Linked DNA regions of Homo sapiens: all the other regions are linked to region 3. The links are contacts of gene promoters, found by promoter capture Hi-C in human tissues and cell types (Jung and others, 2019). All regions are on one chromosome and are shown on one strand. Each heading gives the region's core, a stretch centred on a gene start or on the middle of the fragment in contact. The rest is flanking DNA. Distances are from core to core; before and after follow the strand shown. Region 1 overlaps UNC79 (unc-79 subunit of NALCN channel complex). Region 2 overlaps UNC79 (unc-79 subunit of NALCN channel complex). Region 3 holds the start of UBR7 (ubiquitin protein ligase E3 component n-recognin 7). Region 4 overlaps UNC79 (unc-79 subunit of NALCN channel complex). Region 5 overlaps UNC79 (unc-79 subunit of NALCN channel complex).

Region 1 (2,700 bases), core at 135-2,634, 310 kb after region 3:
GGTTATTATATATCTTTTCTTTCTAAAGTTTTGCAGCCTTTGACCAACATTCCCCAAATTCTGCCCCCCTGTTATATTTTTCACTTCTAGAATTTCCATTTGGTCCATATGTATATGTGAGTGTGTGTGTGTGTGTGTCTGTGTGTGTGTGTGTGTGTGTGAAATGCAATCTTGCATTCTTGGGATGAACTCATCTTGTCATGCTGTATTATATTGCTAGATTTAATTTTCTAAGTTAAGTGTTCAGGTTCCTACATTTATGAGAGATATTGTTTTGTTTTATTTAATTATGATGTCTTCATCTGGTTCCATTTACAGAGTAATACTGACCTCATAAAATGAGTTGGAAAATGTTTTTTTCTCTTCTAATTTCTGAAAGAGTTTATGTAAGATTTGTATTATTTATTCTTTCAATGATTAATAGAATTTACTGGTGAAGCCATATGGACTTGGGGTTTCTTTGAGGGAAATGTTTTATGTTGTGAATGTAATTTTAATAGTTATGGGTTTTTTTTACTTTTATTGAGTTATAGTGAGTTATTTGTGTCTTTTAAGGAATGTGAGCATCTCATCCAAGTTTTCAAATTTATTAGCATGTCTGTAGGATCTGTAGTGATGTTCTACCTTTCATTCCTGATATTGGTAATTCATGAATTTTCAATTTTTTTTTTGTCCATCAGGATGCTGGGGCCTATCAAGTTTTTGGGACTTTTCAAAGAACCAGTTTTTGATTTTATTGATTTTATCTATGGATTTTCTGATTTCAATTTCATTGATTTCTGTTTCTTTATTGTTTTCTTCCACCTACTGAGTTCTGTTCTTTTTCTGTCTTCTTAAGGGAGATGCATAAACTTTTTATTTCAGATCTTTAATATTTTCTCATATAATAATTTTTAGCTATAAATTTCCATTTAATCATTGCTTTAGTTGCTTCCCAGAAATTCATTATATATGTTATGCTTTTATTGTATTTCAGTGCAGGATATTTTCTAAAGTTTCTTCTTTCATTCATGAATTGTTTAGAAGTGTGCTTTTTAATGTGTAAATATTTGGTAATTTTTCAGATACTTTTGTGTTATTGGTTTCTAGTTTAATTCTATTGTGGCTAGAGAATATGCTGTATGATGTAGCTCCATCTAAATTTTTGAGACTTATTTTATGGACTGGAATACCTATCTTGTTAAATGTTGCACGTGTACTTTAAAACAATGTGTATTCCACAGTGGTTGAGTGGAGATTTCTAACATTATAAAATAGGTTAAGTTGTTTGAGAGTGTTTTCAAGTCTTATATATTTGCTGATTTTCTGTCTGCTTGTTTTATCAGTTACTGAGAGAGGATTATGGAAATTTACAACTTCAGTTATGCTTCTTTCAATTCTCTCACCTTACTAAGGGTACAAATATTTATGGTTTTTATGTTTTCTAGGTTAATTGACCCTTTCATCATTGTAAAATTGCCTTGGTTTTTCTGGTAATATTCTTTGTTCTGAAATCTATTTCTCTGATATTAATATAGACACTCAAGCTTTCTTATAATTTCAATTATGGTATAACAATTATGCCATAATTGCATAGTATAACTTTTTCTGTTTACTTCTAGCTTATCTGAGCCTTTATAATTTAGCTATGTTTTTCACAGGCAGCATACAATTGGGTCATGGGTTTTAAAAAACTCAAATCCTATTTCACAATCTTTGCCTTTTAGACCATTTACATTAGTAAAATTATTGTTTAGACCATTGGCATTTAATGTAATTTCTGGTATGAATTGAAGCCTATCATGATACACTTGTATGACTGAAGCCTATCATGTTACACTTGTTTTATATTTGTCCCATCTGTTCCTTTTTTTTCTTTTTGATATCTTGCCTTTTTTGAATTAATTATTTTTAGTGTTATATTTTATTTCTGTATTGTACTGTTAGCTACACCATCTTTAAAAAATTGCTCTTGGGTTTATAATATGCACTTTTAACTTCACAGTCTACCTCAAATTATATCAGTTTACATATAATGTAAGGCCTTTTTGTATTTTAATTTTACCCCTCCTATCCTTTTTGTTATTGTTACCAAACATCTTACTTCTATATATATTATTAGCCTCTATTCATTATAATTATTTTTTGTTTTAAATAATCAACCATCTTTTAACAACATATTAATATGAGTAAAAAAGCCTTCTGTAGTTATTCAGCATACTTACCATGTCCAACACTCTTTATGCCTTTGTGTAAATTTGAGCTACTATCTGGTATCATTTTCCTTTAGCCCGAAAAACTTCCTTTAACATTTCTTGTAGTGGAGCTCAGCTGGAAATGAATTCTCTTATTTTGTGTTTGTCTTCAAATAGTCTTTATTTCATACTCATTTTTGAAGGATAATTTCACTGGGTATAGAATTCTAGGTTGACAGTTTTTTTCTTTCAGCCTATTAAAGATGTCGTTCCATTGTCTTCTGGCTTGCATTGTTTCTGACGAGAAATCAGCGATCATTCTTATCTTTGTTCCCCTGTAAGTAATGTGTCTTTTTTTCCCTCCTGGCTATTTTTAAGATTTTCTTCTTATTGGTTTTCATCAATTTGTTTATAATGAATTTTGGTGTTATTTTCTTTGCTTTTATCTTGCCTAGGATTCATTGAGCTTCTTGGATTTGGGGGTTGTTTTCATCAGACTTGAAAATTTTTAGCCATTGTCTCTTCA
Region 2 (2,700 bases), core at 33-2,532, 430 kb after region 3:
GGTAGTTTGGAACATCATCATCTTCATTGTTCATTCATTCATGCATTCATTCATTCAGCAACTATTTACTAAGTGTCTGCTGGATGCCAGACACTGTGCTTGGCACTGGAGGTCAAAAGTGAATAAATAAAACACCGCTTGTTCTCCAGGAGTTTGCAGTCATAATAGTAATTATAGCTACTATCTATTTAACATCTATCATGTGCCAGGCACTGTGCCAAGTGGCTCACACACATTGTTATCTGATCCAATTGTTACATCAACACATGCGTGATAGATGTTGTTGGCCCCATATTATAGATTAGGTAATTGAGATCCAGAGAAGCTAAATGACTTGCCTAAAGTCAAATATCTACTAAGTGATAGATTCAGGAATTGATGCTAGGCCCTTTAGACTTACAAAGCCATGTTCATTTTTAGTATACCACACTTCCTTTAAATAATTCAAATTCAGTTGTAATAAGGATTATGGAAATTCTAAGAAATAGTTTCCAAATGACAGTTATTTGCCCTTTTGGTAGCAAAGAAGAATGGCTAGTTCTGAATCTAATTATTCTTCTTTTATTACAAAAATCTGTTAGATCACATGATAAAATGCCAATTTTATGACCACATACTAAAATCATAAAAGTGTATCTTCTCCTAATTTGTACGAGTTATCTTTAATAAAAGATAGTGGGCTGGGTGTGGTGGCTCACGCCTGTAATCCCAGCACTTGGGAAGCTGAGGCAGGAGGATCACTTGAGCCCAGGAATTCGAGACCAGCCTGGGTAACATAGTGAGGCCCCAGTCTCTATAAAAAAATTAAAAATTAGCCAGGCGTGGTGGCGCGCACCATAGTCCCAGCTACTGGGGAGGGCAAAGTGGGAGGATCGCTCAAGCATGGGAGATGGCGGCTGCAGTGAGCTGTGATTGTGCCACTCCACTCCAGCCTGTGCACCCTGTCTCAAAAAAAAAAAAATGAAGAAATAAAAAGATAGTGAATTAGAGTATAATTTGAAATAGGATTATTAGCTCAGTAGGACTCAAATGATAGTTAAATATACCATAAAATGAATTTACAAATTACAAATGTTTCATGATCCCAAAGTCATGATTGATCTAGACTTTGGATTTAGCTTAGCACTTAATTAGATTTCCACCTTTCTCCTCCTTGCCATTAAAAGCATGCATTCTATAGCTCTTGGTGGTGTGTTCTTGGAGGTATCATGCCTGGTACCTTATACACTGAGCTAAACATTAAGGGTTTTATTCTCAGGGAATTCTGCTGTCTTTGAAAACACCTGAGAATTGAAGAAATTATTCAATCATCAGAGGTTTAAAATTTTCATTTGATTGAGTCTTCTAGATGCTGCTAAGTTTTAAATTTGTTGCATCTTCAAAAAGAATTCTGCTTTTGAATTTTACTTAAAGATGTGCTTTTCAAGTGAGTCATAACATTGTAAGTTTTACCAATTAGTGGCAAAAACCAGAGATGTTTAGTATTAGGTTGAGTAGTCATTTCCATGAGTTAGGTTAATATTGACTTTAAGACACAAGAATTCCCATCACATCCTTCCCTTTTGATCAGTTTATCAGCTGGTTATTTCGTAGCTAAACGTGTTGTGACCACCATTAATCAAACAGCATGCTAGTTACATTAAAAATAATGTTATAATTGATTTCACATCACACCAAGTTGCCACCTTGGTGCCATGATTGTGAAATGTGTGTATAACATTGAAGAGTTTCCAGGGGCCATGCGGTCATCCCGGTCTCTACCATCCCTTTCTAGGGCGTGTAGTTGATAGCTTCAGTTTCTGAAGTTTTTCTTATAACACAGAGAATAACCACAAGTTGTCAAATATACAAGGTATTTGGGGTCATGCAGAAAAGTTGCATCCATGATGCTCTGCCTCTCTCACTGGGCTGGTTGGTAGGGATTGGTGGGACTGCTGGGAATAGGACCAGAGGAGACTGCTTTCCAACTCAGCAATCTACTGGCAAAAGTGTTTTTCATTGTTTTCTGGTTTGGAAATGCTAATAACTTGACATTTCACTGATGGGATATGTTTCAATGCTTAACTTACAGGATAAAAATGTTACCACTTTTTAAAAACAAAGATGTGTACTAGAATATACTCGTGGAATGTTGTTTGATTCACATTTTTCAAACAGTAGGCAGAGGCTCGCACAGAGATTGAAAACAGCATTGACTTTGGAGTTGATATGTTTTGGTTTTAGGACCACCTCAGTTGCTGACTGGTTCCAAGTCATATAATTTCATTTGCTTCAATTTCTCTCTCTAAAAATTGGGGTTGATATGTGTCATCCTACCCTAAAATATACACGCACACACACACATCATGTACACACGCACACATACACAAGGACCTCATGGGGCTATGAGGAAGATGGAAATAATGTATGCACAAGCTCTGTTAAAGAAAGTTAAGCCATACATTTAAATTTGTTATTTGTCTTAAATCATTTTTGAAACATGGCAGAGTATATAATTTTAAAAGTAGATGAAGATAATCATATTTCATTCAGTTATAACTGGGATAAATATTTACAGGCGACAAATCAGTGCTAATGGGCACTGTTACCATCCTCACTGTGTGAAGAAAGGCATCCGGAACAGCAGAGTACCTTAATTTTTCATTTGAACAGAAGCATACAATTTACCAAAAATTATGAATAGCAAATGAAGGGTCAATT
Region 3 (2,700 bases), core at 107-2,606:
ACTCCTTTTTATTCAACACCCAGCTCAAAAGTCTTATCCTTTCTGAAGACTTCCTAGGGTGTCTGGGTTTGCAACAGTTACAGAGGACCACAGAACCACTTTCACTTTTTTTTTCTTTTTTTTTGAGACGGAGTCTCGCTCTGTCGCCCACGATAGAGTGCAGTGGCGCGATCTCGGCTCACTGCACCCTCTGCCTCCAGGGTTCAAGCGATTCTTCTGCCTCAGCCTCCCGAGTAGAGTAGCTGGGACTACAGGAGCATGCCACCACGCCCAGCTAATTTTTGTATTTTTAGTAGAGACAGGGTTTCACCATATTGGCCAGGCTTGTCTCGAACTCCTGACCTCGTGATCTGCCTGCCTCGGTCTCCCAAAGTGCAGGGATTACAGGCGTGAGCCACCAGCCCGGACCACTTCCACTTTTAATAAGAGTGTCTGCCTGTCTAGTCCCCTTGTGTTTCACAAGGGCAGGAACTGAGTCGCATTCACCTCATTCTTCCTCCAGGGCTCAGCTCAGGGTTTGGCACATAATAGTAGGCATTCGACACGTTTTTTTGTGAAATAAACGAAATAGCGATGAGTTGTGGAAACGCTTGAGTAGAAGCAGCCCAAATAAATATAGTGATAAATGCCAACAATTTTTATTTTTTAAATTATTTTAAAAATAATAATAGAAACGGGGTCTCGATATGTTGCCCTGGCTGTTCTGGAACTCCTGACCTCAAGTGATCCTCCTGCCTCGCCCTCCCAAAGTGCTGGGATTACAGGCGTGAGCCCCACTTCGCCTAGCCCGCCAAAAATTTTTAGATGCAATTCTTCTTTCCTCGAGGCTCACTTTGTCCAAGTCTGCCACTCTACACGGGCTCCCCAAGCCAATTTCCCCTGGGCGCCCGCCCCGTCCTCCGGTCACTGCAGCACCGTCTCAGAGCTCACCGTCCAAGTCCTCGTCTGGAGCCGCCGCCACCCGGTGCTGCACTTCCCCCTGTACCAGAGGGTCGAATAATTCCGTTACCATGTCCTTCATCTGGGCCACGCCAGACAACAGGCCCTGGAAAGGGTCGCCGTCACCCGGCGCCTCACAGGACACCCGCAGCTTCTGCGGCTTCCCTTCCTGCCCGACGTACTCTCCCAGCAGCTCCATGGTGACCGCTAAGCTTCCAGAACACGACACCGGGAAGCGCCACCCGGAGGCGGAAATCAGCCCGCGTCCGGCGCAGGCGGGAGAAGGGAGAGGAGTGACATCCGTTTGTCGGAAGTCGCTCCTCCCCCTTCCTTCGCTTTTTTTCCTTGTCATTGGTTCCTGGCACTCGGGCCCCACCTCCTCCGGCTACGCCCCTCACGGCCGCTTTTCCCGCCTCCGCCGGGGCCGAGCCGCTGTTCGGCTGACAGTTGAGGATGGCCGGAGCCGAGGGCGCCGCTGGGCGGCAGTCGGAGCTGGAGCCCGTGGTATCGTTGGTCGACGTCCTTGAGGAGGACGAGGAGCTGGAGAATGAGGCGTGCGCTGTCCTGGGCGGCAGCGACTCCGAGAAGTGCTCCTACTCTCAGGTGGGCGCGCGGCCCGGGCCTCCTCTCCCCCGGCTCCCGCCGAACCTCCCCTTCCCGGCCCGGCTGTCCCTATTCCCGCCTTGCCGCAGTCGTCTCCCCAGTGGTGGTCCGGGGCCGCCGTTAGTCTGCCGCTTCCTCACCCCAAGCTCACCCTTCCCTTTTAACCCCAACCTCCTGGGCCCCCTTCAGCCTGTGTCCAGCAGGGGCCCCCCTCTCCCCTGTCTCCAACTCTGTCCGGCCCGCCAGGAAGGGCCCTGGAGCAGCTGCTCTGTCCGTCCTCTCCAGCCTCTTCTTGGTGCACCACTGCTTTTCACGAAACCACCCCGCGACCTCTCAGATCCAGACATCTTTGTCCCTGATTTTCCCATCCTAAGATTATTTATTTATTTATTTATTAGGGACCGAATGGGAGAGTCAGGTTAAAGAGATTTTCAAATCCATAGGGATTTGCGGTGAGCTCCTTGACAGCTAGTTCCTCTGCAATTTAGTTGGACAAGTGCTAGCTAGTACTTTTTCTTTCTTTCTTTTTTTGGCAAAATGAAGCAAGTACCCATGTCTATCTGCAGTCTGCCCCCCTCCCCTGGAAATAGACCGGAAACAGAACAGCAAGTGGCTCTGGCAAGGGAGGGGAGAGAGGAGAAAAGGATCTGTTTGGCATTTGGAAGACGTTGTGAGTGAGCAAGTGTTTGAGGGGGTGTGATGTGGTGTTTAGTGACTCACCCTACACTTCGAGGTACAAAAATGGAAAAGGATGGGTAGGAAGAAGACTGACAAAGGATGAGAATTGGTAGGAAGAAGGGTTACCTAGGAAGAGGGGTGGATTGGAACACTGGGGAGATGAGGGGAGAGACTTGTATTCATTATGTGGTATGAACTGAGATCATAATACCAGTTCTCGTTGTTGACCAAGGTTAGTTTACACTGCAAAGTGCTAGATTGTTGAATAAACCTGGTATCCAGACATAGCCCCAGGTATTTTAAAACCTTTGGTCACCACTAAAACAATTTTTCCCCTGCTTTACTTAAAAAAAAAAAAAAGAAAAAAGTTATGTCTATATGTAAACTATTTTTGAAGTGTAGTTACCTTTATAAAATGGATTCCTTAATATTTTCTTTGTGGTAAAAAAAAAAATACGGAAATTTGCACAAATCATGTAC
Region 4 (2,700 bases), core at 173-2,672, 350 kb after region 3:
CGTTATAATAGAAAATCTTCCTTTTCTGTTTCATGGAACCTTAGACAGAAGCTTCTCATTTTTCCAAGATGCCACCCAGTGGGCCGCATGGGGGAATAAGATGTCAAATTAAACACAAAAAAAGGAAAAATGGATCAGGATGTGAGTGATACAGACTCTGGACCCATGTGCTGCCAATTCTCTCCTCTCAAAGACAGCACTGATAAAAGAAAAACTTCAGCTGAATTAAATTTAAAAGAGCTTAATGAGCAATGAACAATTTGTGAATTGGGCAGCCCCCAGAATCACAGCTGATTCACAGAGACTCCAGCACAACAGCTATGTGTGCTGTGCTGGAGTATAAAGATTTATAAACAAAAACAGGGAAGTGACCTACAGAAATTGGCAGTGAGGTGCAGAAACAGCTGGATTGGTTACAGGTTGGCGCTTGCCTTATCTGAACACAGTTTGAACACTTAGCAGTCTATATGAGTGGTTGAGGTATGGCCGCTTCAACGGCCAAGACTCAGTTATTGGCACATACTACTAAGTTAGGTTTTTAATCTTTTCTGACTACTAAGCTAGTGGAGGAAATTTTCATGCACGTCTGTGTGAAAAGACCACCAAACAGGCTTTGTGTGAGCACTAAAGCTTTTTAATCACCTGGGTGCAGGTGGGCTGAGTCCAAAAAGAGAGTCAGCAAAGGGAGATAGGGGTGGGGCCATTTTATAGGATTTGGGTAGGTAGTGGAAAATTACAGTCAAAGGGGTTGTTCTCTGGCTGGCAGGGGTGGGGGTCACAAGGTGCTCAATGGGGGAGCTTTTGAGCCAGGATGAGCCAGGAGAAGGAATTTCACAAGGTAATGTCATCAGTTAAGGCAGGGACTGGCCATTTTCACTTCTTTTGTGGTGGAATGTCATCAGTTAAGGCAGGAACCGACCATTTTCACTTCTTTTGTGATTCTTCACTTTCTTCGGGCCATCTGGACATATCTGTGCAGGTCACAGGGGATACGATGGCTTAGCTTGGGCTCAGAGGCCTGACATTCCTGTTTTCTTATATTAATAAGAAAAATAACATAAAATAGTGTTGAAGTGTTGGGACAGGGAAAATTTTTTGGGGGGTGGCATGGAGAGATAATGGGCGATGTTTCTCAGGGGTGCTTCAAGCGGGATTAGGGGCGGCTTGGGAACCTAGAGTAGGAGAGGTCAAGTTGAAGGAGGATTTTGTGGTAAGGGGTGATATTGTGGGATTGTTAGAAGGAGCATTTGTCGTATAGAATGATTGGTGATGGCCTGGATACGGTTTTGGATTAATTGAGAAACTAAACGGAAGGTACAAGGTTTGAATAAAAGAAAGAAAAAAATAGGTATTAAAGGACTAAGAATTGGGAGGACCCAGGACATCCAATTAGAGAGTGCCCAAGGGGGTTCAGCGTAATTACTTGCTTGGTTGGTGAGTTTTGGGGCTCTATCCTTGAGTTTTTTTATGTTGTCATGTACCAGGCCAGATCGATTTAGGTAAAAACAACAATCTTCATTTAAAAATATACAGAGTCCTCCTTTTTCAGCAGTGAGTAAGTCAAGGCCTCGGCAGTTTTGGAGGACAACTGCAGCTTAAAGAGTCAACTTGGGCCTGAAGGACTGATAAAGTTTGTGATATCTCTGTGATGCTAGCAGAGAAGTCATTAGAGAGGCTACGGAAGGTCGTGATAGAGGTTGAAATGCCTGCCATTCTAGTATCGAGAGCAATAGTGGAGGCAGAAAGTCGTAAACTGACAAGCAAGGATATTAGTGGAATAACTCTTTTTTGTCATCTCAGTGTCATGAGGGGAACAGGGAGCTCTTCGGTCCCATTCGCAAATTGAATTTTGGGAGTAAGGAAAACTAGTGTGCATGTGCCTGTCCAATTAGCAGGTAGCCACATGTAGGTAGAGGATCCACAGAGGAAGAAGAGAGCTTGTGCCAGGCAAAACTGGAAATGCAAAGTAAAAAGATGAGAAGGAATGCTGAAAGGGGTGTCTTGTACCCAGACTCCTAGGGATCCAGCTAGGGCGGCAGCCGTCAGAGGTTGTAATGGGGACTGATGGGGTAACTGCATAGAGGGAGAGGCTCGATTTTCATGGTGTATGAGAAAACGTTGAGTGCCCACGAGCAACCTTTCACTGTTATTTATGGGGCTGGGTATAAGTAAACAAGAAGAGGGCCTGGGAGGAGAGTCTGAAGAGCAAGGGGAAGGTAGCCAAGGATGGAGGGAAATACAGGGTGTCTTCCTAAGCAATAATTACTGCTAATGTTTTTAAGTTTGCCAGTATTGATAGAAGGCTTATCTGTAATATGGAGCTGTAAGGCTCCAATTGTTTCAGTGATGTATGTAGTTGGGCTTTGGAGATGAAGAGTGAAGGAACATCAAGAAGGGGAATTCCAGTGGGTCTTTGCTGAGAGATACATAAAGGAGCAGCCACAGGAAAAGTAGTTTTTGTTGTGAGGGGTCCAAATATGGGGGGAGTAGAGTTGATATAAGGAGAAAGGTTTTTAAAGTAAGTGTGGAGGAGGGCAGCAGCTTGCTGATGTGAAATGTCTGGGGAGGTCTTGCTGGACCTGTCTAGAAAGTAAAGAAGTTCTTCAGGAGGGTAAAGGTGAGGGCTATTAAAGGAAGTTTGGAGGTGTAGGGAGACAGGAGATGTTTCCCAGCCTGTATATAAGACGGGGGCAGCTGTGT
Region 5 (2,700 bases), core at 69-2,568, 290 kb after region 3:
GCTCACTGCAACCTCTGCCTCCTGGGTTCAAGCAATTCTCCTGCCTCAGCCTCCCCAGTATGTGGGACTACAGGCACATGCCACCATGCCCGGCTAATTTTTGTATTTTTAGTAGAGATGGGATTTCATCATGTTTGCCAGACTGGCCTCGAACTCCTGACCTCAAGTGATCCGCCTGTCTTGGCCTCCCAAAGTGCTGGGATTACAGGCATGAGCCACCATGCCTGGCTGGACAGAGTTTTTATTGATAAGGTAAATGGGGCATTCTGGGAGGGGAAGCTGTTTTAACAAAGGAACTGTCCAGGTATGTTCATGGGTCAGTGATGGCTCTGAACAACGTTCATATAGCAGACCTGTGGAGATCAGCAGACACTATGTACAAGAAAGTGTCTTGGAACATCTGCACTTGAGAATTCAGTGATGGCTTAAGACCAAATTTCCAATTCTAGAGCAACCATTCAATCAGTAGTCACTGAGTATCCACCATGTACTGGGCACTGGGGGCTCCATGGTTAGTGACATGGGACTGACCCCATCCTCATCTCAGGAAGCTTATCGTATGGTCGGGTTGAGAGGCGAGAAGACAATCAAATAATCATAAAATCAAGTGTAAAATTTTGCTTGTGACAAGTGCTTCAAGTATGTTATACTATAAGATGTTATAAAAGGAAATTTTGCTTTTATTGAGGAAGTCAGGAGGGCTTCTTTGAGGAAGTAACCTTTGGTTTGAGAACTGCAGGATGAATAATGTGAACAAGGCCTACAAGGGGGGGCGGTTCAGGAAGAGGAATCTCATGTGTCACGGGGGAGTCTGGCAAACAGCTGAGACTGAAGGATCAGTGTAGCTGGAACTCAGAGTGAGGGCTCCCTGGTGTGACACTAGACTTAAGAGTTCCATGGGCTGGAACATGCAGGGTGTTGTGAGCTATGTTAGGGAGGCCTGCGTTTATTCCAAATCTGATGGGAAGCTGCTGAACGGCTTTGAGTGGGCTGTGGTGTCTGTCACCCCTGCTGCAGTTGAGAACGGATTGAGAAGAAGCCAGGTTGGATATAGATTGACCTGGAAGGAGGTCATTGCATTTGCGTAAGCACTTCAAAGGCAGGGACAATTGAAACTGAAGAATAAGCAGATCTTTCTGAAAGCTATTTAGGAAGTAAAATTGATAGGACTTGGTAACATATTGGCTAGAGTGGGTTTCTGGATGCACTAACTGGATGCATGGTGGTCATATTAGTTTGTTGTTGCACTGCTATAAAGAAATACCTGAGACTGGGTAATTTATAAAGAAAAGAAGTGTCATTGAGTCATGGTTCTGTAGGCTGTACAGGAAGCATAGTGGCTCCTGTCTCTAAGGGAGGCCTCAGAAAACTCATAATCATGGTAGAAGGCAAAGGGGAAGCACGTCTTACATGGCTGGAGCAGGAGGAAGAGAGAGAAGGGGAAGTGCCACATATATATATATATATATATATATATATTTTTTTTTTTTTTTTTTTGAGATAGAGTTTTGCTCTTGTTGCCCAGGCTGGAGTGCAGTGGCACAATCTCAGCTCACTGCAACTTCCGCCTCCCAGGTTCAAGCAATTCTCCTGCCTCAGCCTCCCAAGTAGCTGGGATTACAGGCACCCACCACCACACCCAGCTAATTTTTTGTATTTGTAGTAGAGATGGGGTTTCACCATGTTGGCCAGGCTGGTCTTGAACTCCTGACCTCAGGAGTTTTGATCCACCCGCCTCGGCCTCCCACAGTGCTGGGATTACAGGCATGGTGCCACACACTTTTAAACAACCAGATCTTGTGAGAACTCTATCATGAGAACAGCACCAAAGGGATGGTGCTAAACCATTCATGAAGGACCCACCCCCATGATCCAATCACCTTCTGCCAGGCCCCACCTCCAACACTGGGGATTACAACTGAACATGAGATTTGGTGGGGACACAGATGCAAACTGTAACAGTGGTTCTACTCACTGATACTGGAGGCATTGGAAGAAGAAGATCAGGCCTCTGAGGGAAGATCTTGAGATCTGTTTCAGACGTGTTGTGTTCACAGTATCTTTGAGACACCTAATAGGAGCTGGTAATTAGGTAGTTGTATTATGGGTCTGGAGCTCAGAACAGAGCTTTGGACTAGAGATAATGAACTTTGAGCCCACACACAAGTGTCCAGTGACCTTCACTGAATTGCATATAGATGGCTGCTGAAGTTGTGTGTGAGTGTGAGATTGCTTAGGGGAGAGCAGAGAATGAAAGAAATGTGGAGTGGTTCTGTGATTAGGCCTTCAGAAACTTCAACAGATAATGGCCCAGTGGAAGAGGATGAGCTCTCCAAAGAGACAGAGAGGTTGCATCTGTTAAGATGTCTTTGGCTGACAGAGGCTTTAAAGTATAAACACATTGGTTGTTTACTTAATAGGAAGTCCTGAAGATAGCTCCACAATATCAGGGGGCTGAGATCTTGGAATTCCCCTCATGTTTGCAAGAAAGCTGCCACTGTGGAGGTTATTATAACCTCGTATAACTACAAAACAGGTAATAGGATCAAGCAGAGTCATTAAGAGAAAAGTCTCCTGGTGTACCTCTTTCGTTTTATCAGAGGGAGAAAGTATGTCTCAGAAGCTCCCCAGCAGATTTTCTCTTCATTCTTACTGTCCAGAACTGAGTCACGTGGCCATCTCTAGCTGCAAGGGGCTTTG

What was found. Contacts are between HindIII fragments. The study calls those that stand out against the background at their distance.
Region 1: a contact is called between a fragment that was not itself captured here and the fragment with the promoter of UBR7 in region 3, in 2 of the 25 tissues and cell types used here (hippocampus and mesendoderm cells).
Region 2: a contact is called between a fragment that was not itself captured here and the fragment with the promoter of UBR7 in region 3, in 1 of the 25 tissues and cell types used here (dorsolateral prefrontal cortex).
Region 4: a fragment that was not itself captured here is called in contact with the fragment with the promoter of UBR7 in region 3 in 2 of the 25 tissues and cell types used here (dorsolateral prefrontal cortex and lymphoblastoid cells).
Region 5: a fragment that was not itself captured here is called in contact with the fragment with the promoter of UBR7 in region 3 in 2 of the 25 tissues and cell types used here (H1 embryonic stem cells and hippocampus).

Annotation. Positions count from the first base shown.
Region 1 is chr14:93,517,781-93,520,480 of GRCh38, forward strand. All of the region lies in intron 7 of UNC79 (unc-79 subunit of NALCN channel complex), which reads left to right. Among named protein-coding and RNA genes, the nearest start is that of UNC79, 88 kb to the left of the region's middle. The HindIII fragment of the contact is 4,844 bases long and covers 1-2,700 here.
Region 2 is chr14:93,631,740-93,634,439 of GRCh38, forward strand. All of the region lies in intron 33 of UNC79 (unc-79 subunit of NALCN channel complex), which reads left to right. Among named protein-coding and RNA genes, the nearest start is that of PRIMA1, 160 kb to the right of the region's middle. The HindIII fragment of the contact is 6,956 bases long and covers 1-2,700 here.
Region 3 is chr14:93,205,900-93,208,599 of GRCh38, forward strand. UBR7 (ubiquitin protein ligase E3 component n-recognin 7) reads left to right here and starts at 1,357. Exons shown (of 11, transcript NM_175748.4): 1 at 1,357-1,542. The coding sequence starts at 1,393. GON7 (GON7 subunit of KEOPS complex) reads right to left here and starts at 1,166. Exons shown (of 2, transcript NM_032490.5): 1 at 931-1,166. The coding sequence starts at 1,138. RefSeq lists an enhancer at 403-1,262. The HindIII fragment of the contact is 21,573 bases long and covers 1-2,700 here.
Region 4 is chr14:93,558,816-93,561,515 of GRCh38, forward strand. The region is part of intron 14 of UNC79 (unc-79 subunit of NALCN channel complex); the gene reads left to right. Among named protein-coding and RNA genes, the nearest start is that of UNC79, 130 kb to the left of the region's middle. RefSeq lists an enhancer at 618-1,120. The HindIII fragment of the contact is 3,598 bases long and covers 1-2,700 here.
Region 5 is chr14:93,492,424-93,495,123 of GRCh38, forward strand. The region is part of intron 5 of UNC79 (unc-79 subunit of NALCN channel complex); the gene reads left to right. Among named protein-coding and RNA genes, the nearest start is that of UNC79, 63 kb to the left of the region's middle. The HindIII fragment of the contact is 4,592 bases long and covers 1-2,700 here.